Linked DNA regions of Homo sapiens: region 2 is linked to region 1. The links are contacts of gene promoters, found by promoter capture Hi-C in blood cells and fetal thymus (Javierre and others, 2016). All regions are on one chromosome and are shown on one strand. Each heading gives the region's core, a stretch centred on a gene start or on the middle of the fragment in contact. The rest is flanking DNA. Distances are from core to core; before and after follow the strand shown.

The links. The method cuts DNA at HindIII sites, captures the fragments that hold promoters and counts their contacts. A CHiCAGO score of 5 or more calls a contact.
Region 2: a contact is called between a fragment that was not itself captured here and the fragment with the promoter of CALCRL in region 1, in 1 of 17 cell types (total CD4 T cells). The highest score is 5.1, in total CD4 T cells.

What each region holds. Positions count from the first base shown.
Region 1 is chr2:187,446,490-187,449,692 of GRCh38, reverse strand. It overlaps CALCRL (calcitonin receptor like receptor), which reads left to right and starts at 1,441. Exons shown (of 15, transcript NM_005795.6): 1 at 1,441-1,654. The region is part of intron 2 of CALCRL-AS1 (CALCRL and TFPI antisense RNA 1); the gene reads right to left. The HindIII fragment of the contact is 1,657 bases long and covers 1-1,545 here.
Region 2 is chr2:183,243,487-183,246,689 of GRCh38, reverse strand. No RefSeq gene overlaps it. Among named protein-coding and RNA genes, the nearest start is that of NUP35, 120 kb to the right of the region's middle. The HindIII fragment of the contact is 1,381 bases long and covers 1,082-2,462 here.

The DNA of each region.
Region 1 (3,203 bases), core at 192-2,691:
TATGTCTGTATTTTGTAATCAATATTGATCTCACTGGTCTTAAAATCAAAGATTGTATAAACATTTTCTTCCACTAATTCAGACAATAAAAATGTCAACATGAGCACCCTGCTTTAAAAACATGATATTCCTGAATTTATTTTGCCTTTACCTCCTTTGTCTGCCTACAAGGTGTATGGCACCTCATTTTATCCTGGAATTGCACTAACAATTTACTAAGAGTTGAATGATCCTCACCGTATCTTATCTATTTCAAAATGTTATGAAATTTGTCGATTCAAAGCCTTAGACATAAAATCTATCTCTTCTAGTTTATAGATGAGAAAATTTATGCCCTGATAAATTAAGTGACTTTTAGTGCTGTTTAGGTTATAGGGATTATAATTATTGCTTCATATCGAACATTTACCAAATTATAAAAATGATAAAAGCATTTTAAATTTACATTTTCCCCTGATCATATCCAATGATGTATTAAACATATTCAGGAAAAACTATGCTTTGAGATGAAATTTTGTCTAAGAAATAAAGTATCCTTTGTATTTATATTATTTTATAATATTATGTTTACAACATCTATATTTTCTTTAAGATTATATTGACTTACAAATATTGTGGTATAAATTATTTTATATTATAAATAACATAATTATACCAAATATTTTTAAATGTGTGCAATAATTTTAAAATTATGAATTATTCAAAAGGCTATTTTGTCAAATATATATACTTATATATTATAAAAGAAACACTCTATACACACACATACACAACCTGAATTTATAACACATACACTCATGTTCTTATGAAGAAGGTAAAGGAAAAAATAAAAGATTTAAAAACTGCAGGATAAAGTTTCTTGATCTAATTAACTGATTAGGAACTGCACTTAGGAACTGATGGAGGAACAGCACCCAATTAGCAGAGCTCCAAATTAAGAAGAGCCAAATCACAAAACCAGTTATGATGAATACAGTTAATTTTTTTTTCTGTGTTGTGCTATGAACACAGATTTGTTAGATTTTTTTTCCTGGATACTTTGTAAGCTATAATTCAACACACACACACACACACACACACACACACACACACACACGCCTAACTCCTTTGATTCTTTGAGCAGAATACTATATTCAGATTTCCTTCAAATCACAAGTAGCTTGTTTGGCAAGTTCTAACAGAACTCAGTCAAGGTGAAAGCCAGCCAGCTTTTTACTGGTAACAATGTATTCACACAGCCTATGATCTCTCTCTGTTCAGGCTGCTTCTTGCTCTTGTCTCACAATAAGAAAGGAGTGCTGCTTTCCTGGGGTATGCTATTTGAGAAAGAAAGTAACCTAACACTAACTGCAGGCGGGGTCAGAGTGATGTAACAGGAAGCTCTGATGTTTCCCTTCTGCTGCTGATCACTTACAATCTGACAACACTTACAATCTACTCAGAACAACCTCTCTCTCTCCAGCAGAGAGTGTCACCTCCTGCTTTAGGACCATCAAGCTCTGCTAACTGAATCTCATCCTAATTGCAGGATCACATTGCAAAGCTTTCACTCTTTCCCACCTTGCTTGTGGGTAAATCTCTTCTGCGGAATCTCAGAAAGTAAAGTTCCATCCTGAGAATATTTCACAAAGAATTTCCTTAAGAGCTGGACTGGGTAAGTGCACATTCAAAATAAATATATTTATTCTAAGTAGTATTCTCATATAGTTTGGCAATGTTTCTATTATAGAATTTAGTAGATAGCACTGAAATAATGTTGAAACATAGTCTCACTTATTTCACATGCTAGAGAAAATACAGCCTACTACCCCAACATGAATACAAAATCTAATACTACTAGATAATATTGTTTACCATGGTATTCTAGAAAATAAATTTAGCAAGTATTAAAAATCTAAATGGATTAAAAGACATATTTCTGAACAAATACCTTAATCACAGAACAATGTCTTTTAAAATTAGCTCTAATATTAGCTAAGCTTGAATCTTGACAACTGGAAAACATTTCTCCCCCCGGAAGGGTCTTTAAACTTTCCATGTTATCAGCTGTAAGAAAGAGGTGAAAGAATAACTACTTAATGGGTCTCGGAGTCTCACTTACTCTGTGGTTGATCATAATGCAGAGTTTTGAAAAGTAATCACTTTGTATTTATTACATTTGCTTTTATTTGCCTTTCACCTTTATTTACACATATATCTGTAACTACTGAACTAATTTTTGTGTTCATTGTTGCCAGATGTGTTTAAATCTCTCTTCTGCTAACCCTGAACTGTTTGCTCTTTATTTGGATCATGGTGTCGGCTACAAAGAAAAAAAAAAACCTAGAGTTTAGGAAATGTAGATTTTTAAAACAATTCTTAATTTTGAAATCTTTAAGAGAATACTTCAACTTGACTGGTTCCCCTCTGCAAGCTTTTGGAGGGGGGTGTGATACCACGATATCTGTGGATAAAGAAACGTGACAGCTTTCCCAAAGAAGTATATTAGACGATTAAACAAAGAAATTAAAGTATTTATTAAAAAAGAATTTCCAGGATGGAACTTACTGAAATGTTGGATAAAACATCTGTTAATGCTCATTCCGATAGTACAGACTGTCCTGAACAATTTAAGAAACTAATGTCTGCTTAATAAATTGTTTGTGTAGATATATCACAAATTTGTTGCTGGAGAAAGTTTGATGTCAAATTTTAAATGATGTTGATAGATATGATTTTTAAGTTATATATTTTCTTACCTAAATGCAATTATACTTTCCAAGATGTCCTGCATTGGAAGCATCCTGTACTTAATCACTTATATCTGGCACATTAATAATAGACTACAAACATCCTGAGTAACTCCTCAGTAATTTACAACTCAATTTTTCCACAAATTCCTCAATATAATGAAAATTTAAATTAATTCTTAGATTTGTGATTCTTTAAGAGTATCATGGCTGATTTCTCTCTCTTTTCAATCTTCAGTTGTACTGAGTTCCCTGACACATGTGTAGAAATGGGAAAAGTGTTTTTAGAATGTGACTTTAGCCATTATATAAATGGGGGAGAAAGTGGAAACAACACATTTACTAACCCAATGACGTGGGTTAGTAACAAAAATTAAAACAACATTATTTTTAATTCAGATTATTTTCTTAGGAGGTATTATATTATGATCATATTTTATAATGAGAAACTCTCCAAACTTCCTTAATTTTTGT
Region 2 (3,203 bases), core at 523-3,022, 4.2 Mb after region 1:
CACTGCAGGAGATCTGCATTTTATTTCCACCAATTTTCCCTATGAGTGTGGGGTCAGAGGACAGAAGTATATGTGTTTCAAACATATGGGTATTTTTTAATTAGGAAAATTTCAAATGTATACAGAAAAATTAAGATTATTATCAACATAATCAAGTTTGTTTCATCTATAACTTCCCTCCTCTTGCCCAGATCGTTTTTGAACCAGTCCCAAACGTCAGATTATTTTCTCTGTAAACATATTAGTATGTATCCCTAAAATATAACTCTTTGAAAACAAGACCACAATACCCTCAAGAGATATTTTTACAGTATTAGAGATTAAACTTTATATAACTTCTATATCCAATTTATGTTATGTAATTACTAAATAACCTCTAGAAACATATATTTTGTCTTTTTCATGAATGAAAAGAAACTTACTAGCTAAACAGATCTTCAATAACAAAGCATTTTTAGACTACATATAGAGTATATATTTATAGGAAGAGAAAGCGTAGTATAACATATATATGCGTGTATACATATTCATTATACATATATATACACATATGTGTGTACATACATGTATATTTATTTACTCTTTATGTAAAATATATCCTAAATGACAAATAGTAACTCTTTAAGAATTTTTCTCAGTGGGACTTAGAATAAATTGGCAGAGTTTATGGGTCACTCATAGAGCAGAAACCAGAACCGTGCTCCCAGAGTGCCAGGAGAATTAGCAGAACCTTAGACGAAAGTGAACCTTCTGAGAAGGTTCTGAGAAGATGTAACACAAGAGGCCAAGAGTTTCAGCCCTAGCAAAAATTCCCACTCTGAGCTTAGTACAAAATGTATAGAGCTACTCTCTTTAAGGAATCAAATGGGATTGGACTGAAGAGCAAAGGATTGCCCCCCAAAAGCTATGAATGCATTAATTCAAGTACTGTGGACAAAATTTATACCTGCTTCAGGTATTCCCATATTTATTTGACTAAAGCTGGAATGGTCATCTACAACAGAAGGAAGCTTCCCTACTGTCTGAAGTCAGTCTACTGTAGAAGTAGAAGTAGAAGTCTGTCTACTGTACCCTGCAAGCTTACACAGTCTATTAAAAAGGGTTGAGAAACACTGGCCTGACATATAAATTCTCCCCTCCCAAAAGAGTTATGAATATGTGTGGATGATAAATTTACATATCATACCCAGTTATAATAAATTGAATTGTACTTTGACCATTTAATTCAATATTAAGTTGGCTAATTTTGAGAAGTGGAGTATTCTCACCTTATAAATTAATATTTAGAACAGATGAAACTGATTGAGCGTTAAAGTAATAGTCCTCTCAGCCCTGCTTTGAGGACACCAGGAAGCTATATAGAAAGTTTATCAATCTGTGAATTGCTTTTTATATAAATTCAGCTTTGTAACTATAGATTATTCAGTAAATCTATAGATGAAACCATAATAATGATTAAATTGTCCTATAGATTCAAAATCTGTGCATATGGGAAAAGAAAGTAGGTGACACCATTTAAAATATCCACTTATGAAAAGTAGTTTTTGAAATAACTGTTACAGAAAAGTAGGAGTCATATATTGCAGAAGTTAGTTAAATGAATCTTGATGGGATGGGAGTCAGTCACTAAATAGGATAAGGATAGCAAGAGGAGAGGGAAGAGAGCTCTGTGTGCTATTAATCTCCCTAACCAGATGTCTTCATCTCATTGGAAAACAGGTACCATGGTGTTTTATGTCAAAAAAAAAAAAAAGTGTGGTTCTTTCTCCATCTTTCTTTATTATGAGCTAAAAAGGGAAAAATTAAAATACCAAAAATGAAATTTTGGAAATCTAACCAAAAAGTCATTGTAGTGTGGTGGAATACATTTTAGATAAAGAATCAAGAGACCTGAGCTCAGCCCTGACACAGATCCTTCCCTTAAAACAGTCAATTTTCCCTGGTGAAAGAATTTCACTCAGCTGTCGGTAACTATGTGGGAACCTAGCTCTCTGGCCTGGCCTGCTTGCTCCACTGAGCCTCCTGCTGGGCCTTTCCATCTGCTTTCTCTATCAGCAGGGCTATACCAAATTAGCGAATTTTATATGTATCTGAATCTCCTCCTTGCAAAGAACCAGGTGAGCCATTAAGGGTGCCATCTGTTTGGGTCTTCTTGTACTCATTCATCAATATTTACTCAATTGAGCATCTACTGTGTGCCAGGAACTCTGTTAGGTGCTGGGAATACAGAAGTAAACAAGACAGACACAGTCTCTGCTTTAATGTGGTTTACAGTTTAACAAGGGAGGCTATTATAATTGTGATATCTGCTACAAAGAAAACTACAAAAATATAACAGAAGTGCCAACTGTAATTATAAGAGCTACAAAGGAAAACAATATGAAGACCAGTGCTTTTGAAACTAAAGTTGCAAATCATTAGTGAGTCATGAAATCAATTATGTTAGCCAAGACCACCAAGCTTTTATTTAATGGAATGAATTGAGATAGAAATAAATAAAAAAAGGAAATATGAGAGTGTATCACATGTAATAAGGGAAAGTACTGTTTCAAGAATTTATACATAGATGAATGCTGGAATGGGATTTAAAAACGTATTTATTCCTCTGGGTTGTGGTGGAAAAAGTTTTAAGGCCATGGATTTAGACACAGCATAGGGACTGTAATAGACACAAGTATGAATGTCTACTCAAACCACAACTACTTCAATAGAGACTACCTCATTCAAGTCTGCATGACCATACTTGTTAATCCTTGAACACATCAGAGTAGTCAGGGAGGGGCTCCTGAGCTAAGCTCAGCTGCATATTGCTAACAATTAATAAGATTTATCTGTAAGGATTTTAGAATTGAGGCACTGGAAGTCTGAGTCCATCTGACACAAGGATTTAAGCTAAAAGATCATGTATCGTCAATGTTGAGATGGCCGTATAGCCTTCTGTGCAAGAGGAATATACTCAGGAAACTAACTGTGAGAAAGAAGAATGGAGAAAACACTGAAAAAGAAGGAGCAAGGAAACTCAGTTCTTGACTTCAGTTATAAAAGCCCAAATCTTCATTTGCTCTTCTCAGATTCATAAGATCTTAGCATTTTTCAGTAAATACCATCCCCCCTTCAGTTGAGCTATTTGAATAGGTTAATTTTTGTACAACTAAGAATCTCCTCTAGGAAAAAACAATTGGCAAAAAGTTTATGTTACCTTC